Regions from separate parts of the Homo sapiens genome. Here regions 1 and 2 are each linked to region 3. Evidence: promoter capture Hi-C in human tissues and cell types (Jung and others, 2019). All regions are on one chromosome and are shown on one strand. Each heading gives the region's core, a stretch centred on a gene start or on the middle of the fragment in contact. The rest is flanking DNA. Distances are from core to core; before and after follow the strand shown. Region 1 overlaps SH3TC1 (SH3 domain and tetratricopeptide repeats 1). Region 2 overlaps HTRA3 (HtrA serine peptidase 3). Region 3 holds the start of HTRA3 (HtrA serine peptidase 3).

Region 1 (4,747 bases), core at 2,126-4,625, 47 kb after region 3:
TACAAATGTAATTTTTGTCAGCATACTGGGCCCCTCGATGGGGTACAGGAATCCATGAAATCCTCAACAGCCAGTCAGAGCTACTGATCAGCTCAAAAGCTGCTATGCAAAATTGGTAAAGCTACCCACAGCAGAGGACAGGGATGTTGTAGCCATGTACCCAGCTCCATGCAGGGAAATGGACCATCCCTGCAGGAAGGATGGGAAAGCTTCCAGGCTCCTGTGACCACCTTCACCTTGGATGGTCTGAAAACCTGAAGCCCGCAGTTCCTAAAGGGTTAACAAAGGCCAGGCTGCCCACGCAGCCTGCTGGCGCCTGCTGGCTTTGGTGGATTCCCAGCCAAAGCCCCCTCCCAGAGGTGAGCAAACAAGCGCATTTCCTGTTGGAAAACCTGGGACGAAAGGAGACATTACTGGGAAGGAAAGAATCTAGATTTAAATAGACTCTCTGTTTCAAGCTCACATGTAAAAAATATTTTCACTACAAACTGTCTCCTTATTCATCTGTAAAGCCTTGGAATTAAAAAAAAATTACATATGATTTAGAGGCAAATGTGACTTGACTACACTAGATTAGCTAAGAAATCTCCCTGCCCGGCAGAGGCAAACAGCCCCTCCCAGCTATTACCCTGGCCTTGGGGGCAGCTGGAGTCACTCGCATTTGCTCCAGGGACTTCGGCAGAGGGTGGATCCACCCCCTCCCCCAGGAAAACCTACAACAGCCTTCCCTTCCCCACTGGCTTCCAGGCCTCCTCTGGGACCTCCTGCCTGCATCCCAAATGTACTGGAATGGATCCCATTCCCAGGGAACTTCCGAGGGCTCTTGGGGTGTCCACATCCCCAGGCTCTCCCCATGCGGACCCTGTGTGAGGGGAAGAGACAGAGCTGTAGAGGGGAGATGGAAGGGTCTCCCTCAATCAGCCCCTCAGGAAGGAGCAGACCCTTGAGGGACCTCAGTTGAGGCCCCTGCAACCTAAGGCTCTGAATTCTGCCACCCACTGAGGGCAGTGTGGCCTCCCATCTCTGAGGCAGAGCAGAGGGCAAGCTGCAGCTTCTCCAGGTCATGAGAAAGGAACCCACAGCTACAAGTGGACCCAAGCAGTGGAAAGGATGCTCCATCTTGGGCGGGGACCAGGCGGGGGCCAGCATGTTCATTGGAAGAAGTGCGGGACCCCACGGCCTCCAGTGCCACAGTGGACGGGAGGTTCAGGCCCACCTCAGGCAACCTCCCCCAAGCCCCCAGCCCACACCACAGAGGGGTGACAGCCGCACCCAATGCCCACCGTGCTCAGCTTTGTCACCTCCCCCAGCGTTACCCCAAGGCCCAGCTCATAACCAGAGGAAGCCTGAGCCACTGGCAAAACCCACCTTTTTCCTGCGGCTGCTCGGTCTCAGCTTCCTCTACTGAGTCTGGCAAGGGAGAAAAGAGAAGCAATCAACACCCCCAGCCAGTACCTCTGGTCCCCTGCCAGGTTGAGCTAGTGTCGATGTTGCAGGGTGAGAGCATTGCTGGGTGCAGGTATTGAGGGCTGAGATGTTGCAGGGTGCTGGTGTTGCGGGCTGGAGTGTTGCAGGGTGCAGGTGTTGCAGGCTGAGGTGTTGCAGGGTCAGGTGCAACCAGCATAGGAGCACTGCTGACACCTGAGGGAGAGGCACCAGCCAATGGGCCAGAGAATTCTCATGTTCTAGCATCTCCAGGCCTCCACCCCACCCAACCCCTGTGGGGATTCCACTCTCCCGTCTTCTGGGGACATCCTCCCATCATCAGTGGGGAGCACGCTCTCGGCTTCCATCAGCTCCATCAGGGAGCAGGGCGCATTGAACAGGCAGCAGCTCTGAGTCCGACAGCCCAGGGATCAACACTGCTCCAGTGCACCCCCACCCTCTTCATCCCAGGGCAGGCAGCTACCGGGTCTCAGTTTCACCCCCGTAAAGTGGCTGACACTAACTGCTTACTGGGTTTCCGTGGAGGTCAAGTGAGAAATAGCTGTAAAAAGATGTGGAGATGTGGACAGCGTCAAGCGCTGTGAACTGCGATAACAGGTGTGCAGTTCTGGGGAGCACCCTGCAATGCCTCCATCTCACAACACCTGCATCCTGCAACACCCCCACTTATGACACCTGCACCCTGCAATGCCCCTGCCCACAACACCCCACGGTGTGGAGGGTCCCAAACCTGCTTCCTAAAAAGGACAGGAGATACCATCCAGGGGGTCTGAGCCTTGATATGCTGAGGTCAAGTCTAAGTTTGTCCATTCAGGAAGGGAAGTTGATTTGTGGGATCTACAAATGTTAACTCTAATACTGGTGGGAGAAAAGGTCTTGTAATGCATGTCATCGAGCAAGCAGGAAAAAAGTGTGTGTGGAAATGTATCTGTTTATATATGTGTGTGCATATGTGTGTGAGGGGGTGCATGGATATGTATGTACGTGTGCGTGTACACCTTGTGAGGAAGGTGCATGCACATGTGTGTATGTGTGTATACACCTCTGCAGGCACATGTGCACACATGTCTGCATGGGTGGGTGTGTGTGTGTGTATACTTGTGAGTGCATGTGTGCATGCACACAGTGTGTATTTACATGCGTATTTGTGTGTTTATGTCTGTGTTTGTACATGTGCACATAGGTATACAAGTAGGTGTGTAGATGCTGGGCACAGTGGCTCACAGCTGTAATCCCAGCACTTTGGGAGGCTGAGGCTGGCGGATCACCTGAGCTCAGGAGTTCGAGAACAGCCTGGCCAACATGGCGAAACTCTGTCTGTATAAAAAAATGCAAAACTAATCCAGGGTGTGGTGGCGCGTGCCTGTAGTTCCAGCTACTTGGGAGGCTGAGACACGAGAATCGCTTGAACCCGGGAGGCAGAGGTTGCAGTGAGCCGAGATCATGCCACTGCACTCCAGCCTGGGCAACAGCACAGGACTCTGTCTCAAAAAAAAAAAAAAAAAAAGTGGGTGTGTAGCCACACATTTGTGTTTATCTACACCCAGCAGATAGCACGGCCTCTGCCATGTTTCTTTATGTTGTGGATGACATGCCAACTTCATCTATGCGTTGCACTGCAGCCCCCAGAGAAAGCTTTTGCACACAGAGGGGCACTGAGGTCAGAGGGACTATCTCTGTCCTTAGGAGACGGCAGCCCTGGGGTCCCACCATGACACTCCCTGGCAGCCAGGTGACCAGGCCACACCACAGTCTGGGTTCTTTCTCTTGTGACAAGGAGAAAAGTCACTCTCACCCAGGCAAAGTGCAGTGGGCAGAGGGCTGGGCCCCAAACAGGAGCCCTCAGGGCTGGCAAATTAGAACCAGACCCATACCCTCTCCCTCGCCCAGCGTCTCAGGCAGGTGCCTGGGGTCAGGGCAGGAAGGGCTTCCCTGGTGCCCACAGGAGTCTCAGGGGCCACATTCCCACGCCCTCAGCTCCTCACCCATCCTCTCTCCTGTCTGGCTTGTCTGCAGCCCCTATGTGCCCTGGAGGCAGCGGCAGCCTCTGTCTGTTCACCTTTCAGCATCCAGGGGCTGGCACTATCTGTGGATGGACGAGGGCAGCAGGGGCTGCAGAAGGGAAAGGGGAGGGCAGTGGCCCCACCACAGGCATCGCCCACACGCACCCAGGCTGTACACGCTGCAGACATCGGTGCCCGACATCCGCCTCAGCAACTGCCTGGCATCCTCCTCAGAAAAGCAGCCCTCGCTGAAGAATGACTTTTCTTCCTCATTGAGAAAAATCGCACTTTCCAACCTGGAAAAAATAAAGTGCTTTATTCAAAACAACATATTTGCAAAGTCAGCATTTCACACTAAGCACATTTCCATTCCTTGATTTGACAGACAGATAGTCTCGGAGCACTACTCTCTGCCCAGGGGTAGAGACAGAGATTTAAAAACAACAACAACAACAACAAAAAGTCCAGGCATGGTGGCTCACACCTGTAATCTCAGCACTTTGGGAGGCTGAGGTGGGCGGATCACTTGAGGTCAAGGGTTCAAGACCAGCCTGGCCAACATGGTGAAACCCCCATCTCTACAAAAATACAAAAATTAGCCAGGCGTGGTGGCATGAGCCTGTAATTCCAGCTGTTCGGGAGGCTGAGGCAGGAGAATCACTTGAACAGAGGAGGAAGAGGTTGCAGTGAGCCGAGTTCACACCACTGCACTCCAGCCTGGGTGACAGAGCAAGACTTTGTCTGAAAAAAAAAAAAAAAAAAAAAAAAAAAAAACCAGATCCTGACCTCAAGGGGTGCCTTGTCTGGCCAGGGGCAGATACCCAGAAGCAGGAAAGGCTGAAACAGATGCAAACAAGTAATGGTGTCCTAGGACAGTGAGCTCCTAGGCAGCCTTCAAAGCCCCATTCCAAATGTCCCCTCCCTTATGAAGTCCCCTGTGACAGCTGCAGACAGAACCAATCCAATCTCTCCACATTGTAAACTCCCACTGATTCTGTACAACCTCAGTGCTCCCCAGAGTGCCCAACATACACTCAGGGCACTCTCATAAAGTCAGGGAGAAGAACTACAGGAAGAAACAGAGAGAGAGGGAGAGAGGGGAGGAGAAAGGAGGCAATTTTTGCTTATAGGACTAAATTACCAGTATAATATGAAGCTTTGAAATGCATCTTATTCAGATTTTAAAAAAACTTAGAGTAGCTTACAGCACATTCTACAAAATAACAGGCCTGTATTCTTTAAAAACATCAGAAAAAGACTGAAAAGCTGTTTCACATTAAGGAGGCAAGACATGACGT
Region 2 (4,591 bases), core at 65-2,564, 35 kb before region 3:
CGATGCTGAAGAGGAGGTCGTCGTTCCCCCGCCGCACCTCCAGTAGGAGAGGAGACTCGGTCAGCACGGCCTCCTGCAGCTCACTCGAGTCCACTAGAGGACGCCCGTTGACCTTGACGATGATGTCACCATCTTGGATGCCGCCTCTGCCAACAGGAGAGACGGGGTCACCACCCACCGCCTCCCCAGGCACAGCCTTCCCAGGCCCGGCCCAGAGCGAGGCACAGTCAGGGTCAATGACAACATTTCAACAAAAGTCATCTCGATGGGAAAGAACAGTGCCCCAGCCCCAAAGCTCTCACACCAGAAGAAAACCAATGTCACACGACAGGGAAACAACCTTTCAAACTGCTTCTCCCATGCGTCAGAAGGGTGGGTTCAAGCTCCCGCTGCAGCCCTCCTAGCTGGGCCAGGCACTCTGTCCCCTTGTGCCTCAGTTTTCATGTCTACCATCCTATGTGGAAACGCACTTTGCAAATTATAAAGGCCCAGGAGTAGGTTCTGCTGTTACTGCAGTTACGAAGACGTCTATGTGGGAGGCAGAGCTCACGGGGCCAGCCTTCTCTCTGCATGAGGCTCACTGAGACCTCCCCACTGCTGGGAAGGAAGGTGATGGTACTGTGCTCAGCTGCGTGGGCACCAGCATCAGGACCCTCACATGCCAGCTGTGTGACCTGGAAGAGTAACTTCTCTAAACCTCAGTCCCTCCACCTGTAAAATGGGTGAGGGCAGGAGCCTGCACCTCCCTGGCTGCAGTGAGGATTAACTGAGATGTGTGTGGAAAATTTCACCCAATTTCAACAATTTTTACTGCAGGCCTGCTGCGGGCAGGACAAGTGTGCCATCTGTGCTCATCACAGAAGTTCACGCGGGGCCTCCCACCTTCAAGCCCAGCCTCTGAGGATGCACAGTACAGTCGGCCCTTGAACAACATGGGTCTGAACTGTGTGGGTCCACTTATATGTGGATTTTTCCCACTGCAGATGAAGACCGAGGCTAAGGAGGGGAGGCAACTGGTTCAGAGCCCTTCTTGGGAGTGGGTCAGCCATGCCAGCATGTGGTAGTGTCGCTGCACGCCTGCCTCAGCCTATGGTGTTGCAATGCTTAACATTTCTCTAGTACTGGAAGACTTCAAAGAAAGCAATCCTTTATCCATTTCATCTACAAAGTCTCCTGGGGGTAGAAATCCCAGCACTTTGGGAGGCCAAGGCAGGTGGATCGCCTGAGGTCAGCAGTTCAAGACTAGCCTGGCCAACGTGGTGAAACCCCTTCTCTACTAAAAATACAAAAACAATTAGCAGGGCATGGTGGTGGGCACTTGTAATCTGAGCTACTCAGAAGGCTGAGGCAGGAGAGTCGCTTGAGCCCAGGAGGCAGAGGTTGCAGTGAGCTGAGATCGCGACACTGCACTCCAGGCTGGGCAACAAGAGGGAGACTGTCTCAAAAAAAAAAAAAAAAAAAAAAAAAAAAAAACAATAGGCTGAATTATCTCCACTTTACAATGAGGAAGCTGAGTCCCAGAAAGACCCAGGACCCAGGCTGGTCCCCAGCTAGTGAAAGAGTCTGGCTTGGAGTGGGTTCTTAGCCCAACAGGGACTCTTCAGCCTCTGCTTCTCGAAGGAAATGACATTGTGGGACTTAGGACGTACACAGTCAGGGCTCTAGGGACCATTCAGCTCTCCAGCCTCCTCTGGCTTAGCAGACACGCTAGAATCCACCTGCCCCTTCCCGGTCACTTTGCTGGGAAGCTCAAGGTCACATGAGGTCAGTGGGGCAGCCCCAGCCCAGACCTCACGCCTGCCCCATGCCTCGAGCGATCTCCTCTGGCAGAGCCTACCTCTGAGAAGGTGAATTCGGCGCAACCTCTTGCACATAAATTCCACTGCTGACCTCTGGGAAGTCCGGGTTGCTGGCCTTCAGCTCATCCACCAGGCTGGAAAGAGTCTGCCGTCAAGGCCCCTCCCCTGAGCCTTTGCCCAGCTCTTTGGTATGAAGCTGCCCCTCCCTCCCTCCAGCACCAGACCAGAAGAGGAGCCACCTCTGGGCCCCCATACTGCCCTGTCCCACCACTGGCCACTCTGTGTCCCCTACCAGATGTGCTTCTTAAGAGAAACGTGGTAGCAATAGCTGGTTAGAAGCGTGAAGAGAGGAGAGAGAGTGGGTAGACAGGTGGGAGGAGGGGCGGGAGGATGGATGGATGGATGGATGGATGGATGAATGAAGGAATGATGCTGGATGGGTGGATAGAAGGAGAAATGGACAGACAGGCAATGCTGAGTCATGGAATGGACAGACAATGCTGAGTCACGGAACGTACAGACAATGCTGAGTCACGGAACGGACAGACAATGCTGAGTCATGGAATGAACAGACAATGCTGAGTCATGGAACAGACAGACAGAAGACTGGACAGAGGTGGGATGGACAGACAGATAAAAGAGACAGAAAACAAAAGATAAATTGGCATACTGGACATTGATAATTTTTTTCAAATGTCACCCCTAGATTAGCAGAGTTGGTGAAACAGGAGGAATGACAGCTTTAGGGACTGTGTGCTTTGAGGAAATGGTCACTTGAGCATTCTCGAGTTCTTCCTAGGCTCCCGATGCAGTGACCTCTCCCTTCTTCAAACCTCGAAGCTCAAGTTTGTACTTCCAGCCTCCCTTCTATCCTGCCCCTGCTTCCTCTCCCCCAGCCCCTTCTTTCTTGCACTCATTCAGCATTTCCAGGCACCTGCTCTGCAGTGGACCTGCTTTTGGGGCAGAGTGGAGGAATAAGTAGGTCACAGTCCTTGCTCCCAAGGAGCTGACAGCCGAGGAGGCAGGATGGGGTGGGGCGGTCCCACCACAGGTGATTCCGACACAGCAGGATGAGTTCAAGGCTGGAGAGGGAGGCCAGGGCTCTGTGTGCTATGAGGAGGCACCTTCTGCCACTTGAGTGTCCTGGGAATGCAGAATGGTGTTCCCCCAAATTCGTGTACACCCAGAGCCTCAGAATGTGACCTTGTTTGGAAATAGGACCTTTATAGATGTCATTAGTTGAAGATCTTGAGAAGAGACCTTCTTGGTTTAGAGTGGGCCCTAACTCCAATGATGGATGTTTTCATAAGAGAAACGAGAGAGAGATGTGCACACAGATACTCAGAGAGAAAGAAGGTCAAGTGAAGACAGAGGTAGAGACTGCAGGGAGGCAGCCACAAGCCAAGGATGCCTGGAGCCAGCAGAAGCTGGAAGGGGCAAGGAAGTAGCTTTCCCTGGAGCCTCAGAGGCAGAGTGCAGCCCTGCCGACCCCTTGACTTCAGATCCCCGACCTCCAGAACTGAGAGGGAACACATTTCTGCTGTTTTAAGCCACCAGGCTTATAGTAATTTGTTATAGCAGCCATGGAAAGAGATAGCGTCCTGAAAGAGCAGAAGGAATCTATAAGGCAAAGAGGGAAAGGTCCACGCAAAAGGACTGGCCTGAGCAACGGTCAGAGGCCTGAGTGCATCGGCCCGTCTGGGCACCTGCAAGGAGCCGAACACAGCCAGCCAGGGTCTGGAGGGAGGGTCAGGGTGAGGGATGAGAGGAAGGGGTAGCAGGGGATGGCACTCTTCAGACACTCACCTTGGTGTGATCGTCCGCATCCGTATGCCGATGAAGCGCTTCTTCCAGTCTGGAAATGAAACACGGCGAGACTCCGTTAGGGCTGCTGTGAAAAGCCACCACGCTCCCTCAGGGGACAGGCAGAGGACAGAAGTTCCCCTGCAGGACCAGGAAGCAGCAGGTGTCATTCTGCTTGAGCTGGCCCAGTCCCCCTGCGGTCCAGCAAAGCTGCCCTCTCCTGACCATCATCATGGAGCTGAGGGGTATTCTAGCTCTAGTGTGGCTCGCCCCACAGGTGGCTTCATGTCCACCGCATCCTGCATCCAACCATGTGAGCTCCGACATCTGCTCTCCCAGCTGAGCTCCAACCCAACCCCAGTGGCCAGTGGGGCTGTCCTTTCTGGCTTCCATACTGCTGCTTCCCCAAATGTTCCCTGCTTGGAACTGAACTCATCACCTCCCACTGGTCTTCCTCAAAACGATACTCGCTGCTAATGTCCAGTGAGTACTAACCATGTGCCAGGCCCTGTGGCTGGGGCACTGCACACGCAACTCACTGAGATAGTGTCTCCATCCCCCAAGCTGCTCCAATCTGTGAGTTAGCAGGTGTCTCAGATCCAGAAATAAACAAGAGTCAATAAATTTAGAATTTTCATTTTATATAAGAGTTCTGACCACAATTAGAAATCAATAATAGGTATCCAGAAAATTCCCAAATTCTTGGAAATTAATAATACATTCTAAATTACTCATCTTCAAATAAGTAAAAAGAGAAATTAGAAATTATGTTCAGCTGAATAAAAATGAATGTATAATATATTAAAATTTGTAGGTTGTAGAGGTAGAGGGAAATTAATAGTACTAAAGTGTCTATATTAGAAAATAAGAAAAGTCTCAAATCAATAACCTCAGTTTCCGTCTTAAAAACTATAAAAAGACCAAATAAAACCTAGAATAACCAGAAGAAAAAAAATAATTAAAAGTCTGAATCAATAATAAAGTTGAGT
Region 3 (4,315 bases), core at 263-2,762:
AAACACTTGGAATTGTGTTCAGCGGACCGCAGAAAAAATGAGGAAGCCCTCTGCAGGCTTCCCAGGAGCCCCGGCAGTTGGTGCTCCCCATGGTGCTCCTGAGGCTCCACGGAGCCTGTTCTGGCAGCTACTGCATCTCTCCCTGCCACCTGCAAGCTGATGGCACGCAGGACCCTGACTCCTATCCATGAACCTGGGGCCCGTCGCCTGTCTTCAGTGAACCCCTGTCCGGCCACAGCAGAGTCTGCTTTCCTAAGAGGCACCCCAAACAGGGAAAAAGGTACAGCAGGTTTTCCAGCATTTTCCTCCACGTACAGAGTCAACCTGCACGGTGAGATGCAACCTAGAGCCGACTGCCTCAAGGGAGGCTGTTCTAGGGTCTGACCCCGACATTCTCTCCCCCAAGCAGCCTCTCCCTGGGGCGCCCTAAGCAGTTCAGGGACCTGCACCCTGACCCTTCCCACACAGTCCTGTGGAGACATGCACTTAACCACAGTCTCCAGGAAAGAAGGCATCACCCAAGAGGGCACCCCGGCTGGAGAGTTAGGGCAGGAAAGAGTGCCCTTCACTCAATACCCGGACAGAGCAGGGGTCCAAGGATCAAGGGAATGGGCACGAGACATCAGTTCTGAAGAGACCAGAGCTGGAAACAGTCCTAGATGAGGCCCCTCGGGTGGCCAGGAGACCACCGGGTTTCCCTTTTGACTCTAATTCTGTGACCTTGGGGACAGCGGTTTACCTTTCCGGGCCTCAGTTTCTTCATCTGAAAGACCAGAGGGCTGGTGGGATGATTTCTGAAGGGCCACCCGGTGGTGCCCAGGGAAGGGCGACCTCGAGCTCGGCCCTAACTCCCGGCCTTAGTTTCCCCAAGAGAAAGAAGCTTCACTTCCTCCCTGGCCCCCGAGCGCTTACCCAACGGGCAGGCGCCCTTCTGCAGCTGGCGCACGGGCGTCCCGGAGAGCTGCAGCGCGCGGCGGCTGGCCGCCTGCAGCGCGCACACGTTGGCATAGGTGTGCCCGTCGGTGCCACACACGGCGTGCGACCAGCGGCAGCGGCATAGGCCGCGCACGCACTCCAGGCTCTCGCCGCAAGGCGAGTCCAGAGGGCCGCCACAGGGCTCGCCCTCGCTGGCGGCGCACACCAGGCAGCAGTTGCAGAGGTCGGGCACGTAGCCGCCGGGGCAGCGGGGGCTGGGACACCGCGACACGTCGCAGCGCGCGGGACACGGCGCCGCAGGGGGCTCCCGGGCCAGCGCCAGCGCGGCCAACGCGGCCAGGAGCAGCGCTCGCGCCTGCATGGCGGCAGGGCCGGCGGCGGGTGGCAGCGCGGGAGACCGGGCGGGGGCCGGCGGGGACAACGAGGCCGCTGCGGGGCCGGGCGCCGGGCGCCTACGGATGGGACTGGGGCGGACGCGCGGTCACATGCGCCGGTGGCTCAGGCTGGCGGGCGTCAGGGCGGCAGGGGCATCCCCAGGGCGCAGGGAGCGCAGGGACCAGCTCCCTCCAGCCTGACGGTCCGCGGGCGGCGGGTCCCGCGCCTTTAAAGGCGACCGCCCAGCCCGCCCTCGCTGGAAGGGGCGGCCCGGCCCCTCCGCCAGCCCCGCCCAGGCCCCGACAGGGCCCCGCCTGGCCTTCCGGGCCTGGACCCACCCGGCAGGCCTTGGGACTCTGGTCGGCCTGGTCGAGAAAACCCGAGGCTACAGACACGCAGGGGTCCTTTCTGGTGGGGACCCCCGGGCCCAGCCTATCCCAGAAACGTTGGGGGATGCGTTCTCCCCGCTCTGGAGGGGTCTGTCCGTGTCCAGTCTCCTCTGTGCCTCAGTTTCCTCCTCCAGGAAAGGGGAATTGACAGCATTTCTCAACCTCATAGGGTCGTTGGAAGAACCACAGAGGCCATGGCTGAGCAGTGTTCCCGAGTCCTCGCTGTCCACGGAACCGGAAGCTGTTTCCATTCTCATCATTGCTCCTGCATTTTCTGCAGGGCCCCTTCAGACCCAGGTCCCATCACGAGAGTCAGAATCTGGTGACAGTGCGTCAGCTGATGGGGTGAAGGCTGCGGAGTTGTGAGAGAAGGCAGAACCCCCCTTGGAGGTGAATGTCAAGCCTGAAGAGGAAGGATGGGAAGCGGGAGCTGGCCGTGACCTGGGCAGAGGCTCCCAAGCAAAAGCAGGTCGGGGCAGCAGGAGATAACGCCGCGCGCACAGCCTGGAGCTGCGGTCTTCACACTGTGTGTGTTCCTAGTACCCTGGGCTGCCTGGCGAAGCCTGGGTGTCCTTTTCAGAACGATGTCGTCAAGTAGATTTAAACGCATAAAACAAAGACCATGGGGTCACAAAGGGGAACAATTCTATCAAAACACAGTTATCAAAATACATGAAACAATTCATGACAGCGTGGCCTATGGGCTTCTTTATCAGCATGTTAATGGCAGGTTCTGGTCGGTCTGTCGTCTGATACCAGTGGACACTTCGCAGCAGCCCTGTGCAGAGGGCTGCCACTGGAGACACCTTCGGTGAGGGCGGTAACATGGGGATGTAAACACTGCTTCTGCTGGCCGTGGAGCCACAGGCCCTGCTGGCTGGGGTCAACTGCACCCCCAAAGGAATGAATGCTGGACTTCAGTTGGAGTTGTTGGGGTAAATAAAGACGTTTTTCCATCCAGGTTCACAGATACCCAAGTTAAGAATGGGGAGGGGTACCTCTGGTCCAGAGGAGGGAGGGGGAGCTGGAGGTTAAAGGGCCTCGGGGAATGGGAAGGTGGAGGGGCCTGATCCCTGAGGGCCCTGGGTCCTCAAAGGCCTGGGGAGGCGTTGAGTAGGGAGCGGCCCCATCAGACAAGATGTCTGGGGAGGATGAGGTGGGAGGAGGCGGGGCGCCAAGTGTGAGCCCCCATAGGACCCAGAGAGAGTGAAAGGTTGAAGGGTCCCAGGGGACGGGGAGAGAAGGGACCTGGAGCTTCTCCCCCTAAAAGGCCCTTTGACAAGGGGCAATAGCACCTGCGTTTCTGCCTCTACAAACCTCAAGTGCACTTTACTTTGAAGATGTGGAGAATTTCAGGCCATTTTTTGGAATGACCCAGAATGCTAGGAGTTGGGGACCTCAGGGCTGGGCTGAACCTCCCTCAACCTTGGCCAGGGCTCCCGGTTCATGTCTCTGCAGGGTGGGCTTGCCTAAGGCGCAAGGAGAATTTTTCACGTGCCCAGGATGCCTGCCCCTCGAGTAAGCCTTGGTGGGCTACTGTGGCCCAGAGCTGGCTTTTTGGGGGGCCTGTGTTTTCCTGCAGACACCTGGCCCTGAAGATCAACACTTTTCCATCCCTGGATCCTTCAGTGCGCAGAAAACTAAGTCCCTGGGAAGGGCCCAAGAGCTCATTTCCCCTAAGCTTTTCCTCTACAATGGGGAAACTGAGTCTCTGAGAGAGTCCAGGACCGGCGCTGCAGCAGGTCAGAGTTTGCACAGCCTGCCACAGCTTCCAAGGAACCACAGCTACCGATGTGTAGGCCCTGAGGCTGCTGGAGCGCTCTGCATACACTTGACTCAGTCTTCACGAAGCGCCTGAGAGGTGGGCGTTAGGATCCTTAGAACAGGGCTGGGGGAGTGCAAGGCCAGAGATTCTGGCAGGTGGGCCTCAGATCTTGGCCTGTCCTTAGGTCAAGTCCTTGCTCCTCCCTGGAGACCATGCTGCCCCCAACGGTCACCATCTTGACCACCTTGCAGTGGGGATTTAGTCCTCTTGTACAGAGAGGGAAACTGAGGCCCGGAGTGAAAAGACCCTTCTCTGCTCTGCAGCTGGGATGCAGTTCCCTGGGGTGGCCTTTGCTCTTCCCTGAAATGGGCAGGCAGGGCTCACAGTGGCTGCCTTGAGCTTGGCAGGAGCCCAGCGCTGTCCTCAGGAGAGCCGCGCCCCCTGCTGCTCCCGCCCTGCACTGCCTCTCACTCAGTAAACTTTGGGGCCTCCCATCCCCAACCCTGAACACCTGACTTAGGGGCCAGGAGTAGGAGAGGATTCCCCAAGGGCCTGGGATCCACCCGGGAGGTTCCTCTAAGTCTCTGGCTTCCCAGCACAGGACCGCCTCTGTCGTCAGCCCAGAGCTCCAGATACAGGCTCCGCCAGGCCAACGTGTGCAGGCGCAGGGCCGGCCCTCTGGCCCGTGTTATCTCAGCTCGTTCTTCAACAATGCCAGGAAGCTTGTTTAATTTACGTACACCCCTCCTTCGCTCATTTCTACTTACTCCCGCTTGTCACCCTGCCCGAAATATTGATAGTTCTTTACAAACAAGCATAAGATGAGACGTTGCTTATCCTCAGTGGAATG

What was found. Contacts are between HindIII fragments. The study calls those that stand out against the background at their distance.
Region 1: a contact is called between a fragment that was not itself captured here and the fragment with the promoter of HTRA3 in region 3, in 1 of the 25 tissues and cell types used here (thymus).
Region 2: a contact is called between a fragment that was not itself captured here and the fragment with the promoter of HTRA3 in region 3, in 1 of the 25 tissues and cell types used here (spleen).

Annotation. Positions count from the first base shown.
Region 1 is chr4:8,221,838-8,226,584 of GRCh38, reverse strand. It overlaps SH3TC1 (SH3 domain and tetratricopeptide repeats 1), which reads right to left. Exons shown (of 18, transcript NM_018986.5): 10 at 3,615-3,745; 11 at 1,369-1,410. Among named protein-coding and RNA genes, the nearest start is that of SH3TC1, 25 kb to the right of the region's middle. The HindIII fragment of the contact is 3,460 bases long and covers 1,646-4,747 here.
Region 2 is chr4:8,301,526-8,306,116 of GRCh38, reverse strand. It overlaps HTRA3 (HtrA serine peptidase 3), which reads right to left. Exons shown (of 9, transcript NM_053044.5): 7 at 3,606-3,654; 8 at 1,838-1,933; 9 at 1-146. Among named protein-coding and RNA genes, the nearest start is that of LINC02517, 16 kb to the left of the region's middle. The HindIII fragment of the contact is 3,732 bases long and covers 1-3,180 here.
Region 3 is chr4:8,266,951-8,271,265 of GRCh38, reverse strand. HTRA3 (HtrA serine peptidase 3) reads right to left here and starts at 1,512. Exons shown (of 9, transcript NM_053044.5): 1 at 913-1,512. The coding sequence starts at 1,297. LOC105374373 (a long non-coding RNA gene) reads left to right here and starts at 1,085. Exons shown (of 2, transcript XR_001741572.2): 1 at 1,085-1,159; 2 at 1,870-2,660. RefSeq lists a silencer at 3,827-3,976. The HindIII fragment of the contact is 12,405 bases long and covers 1-3,784 here.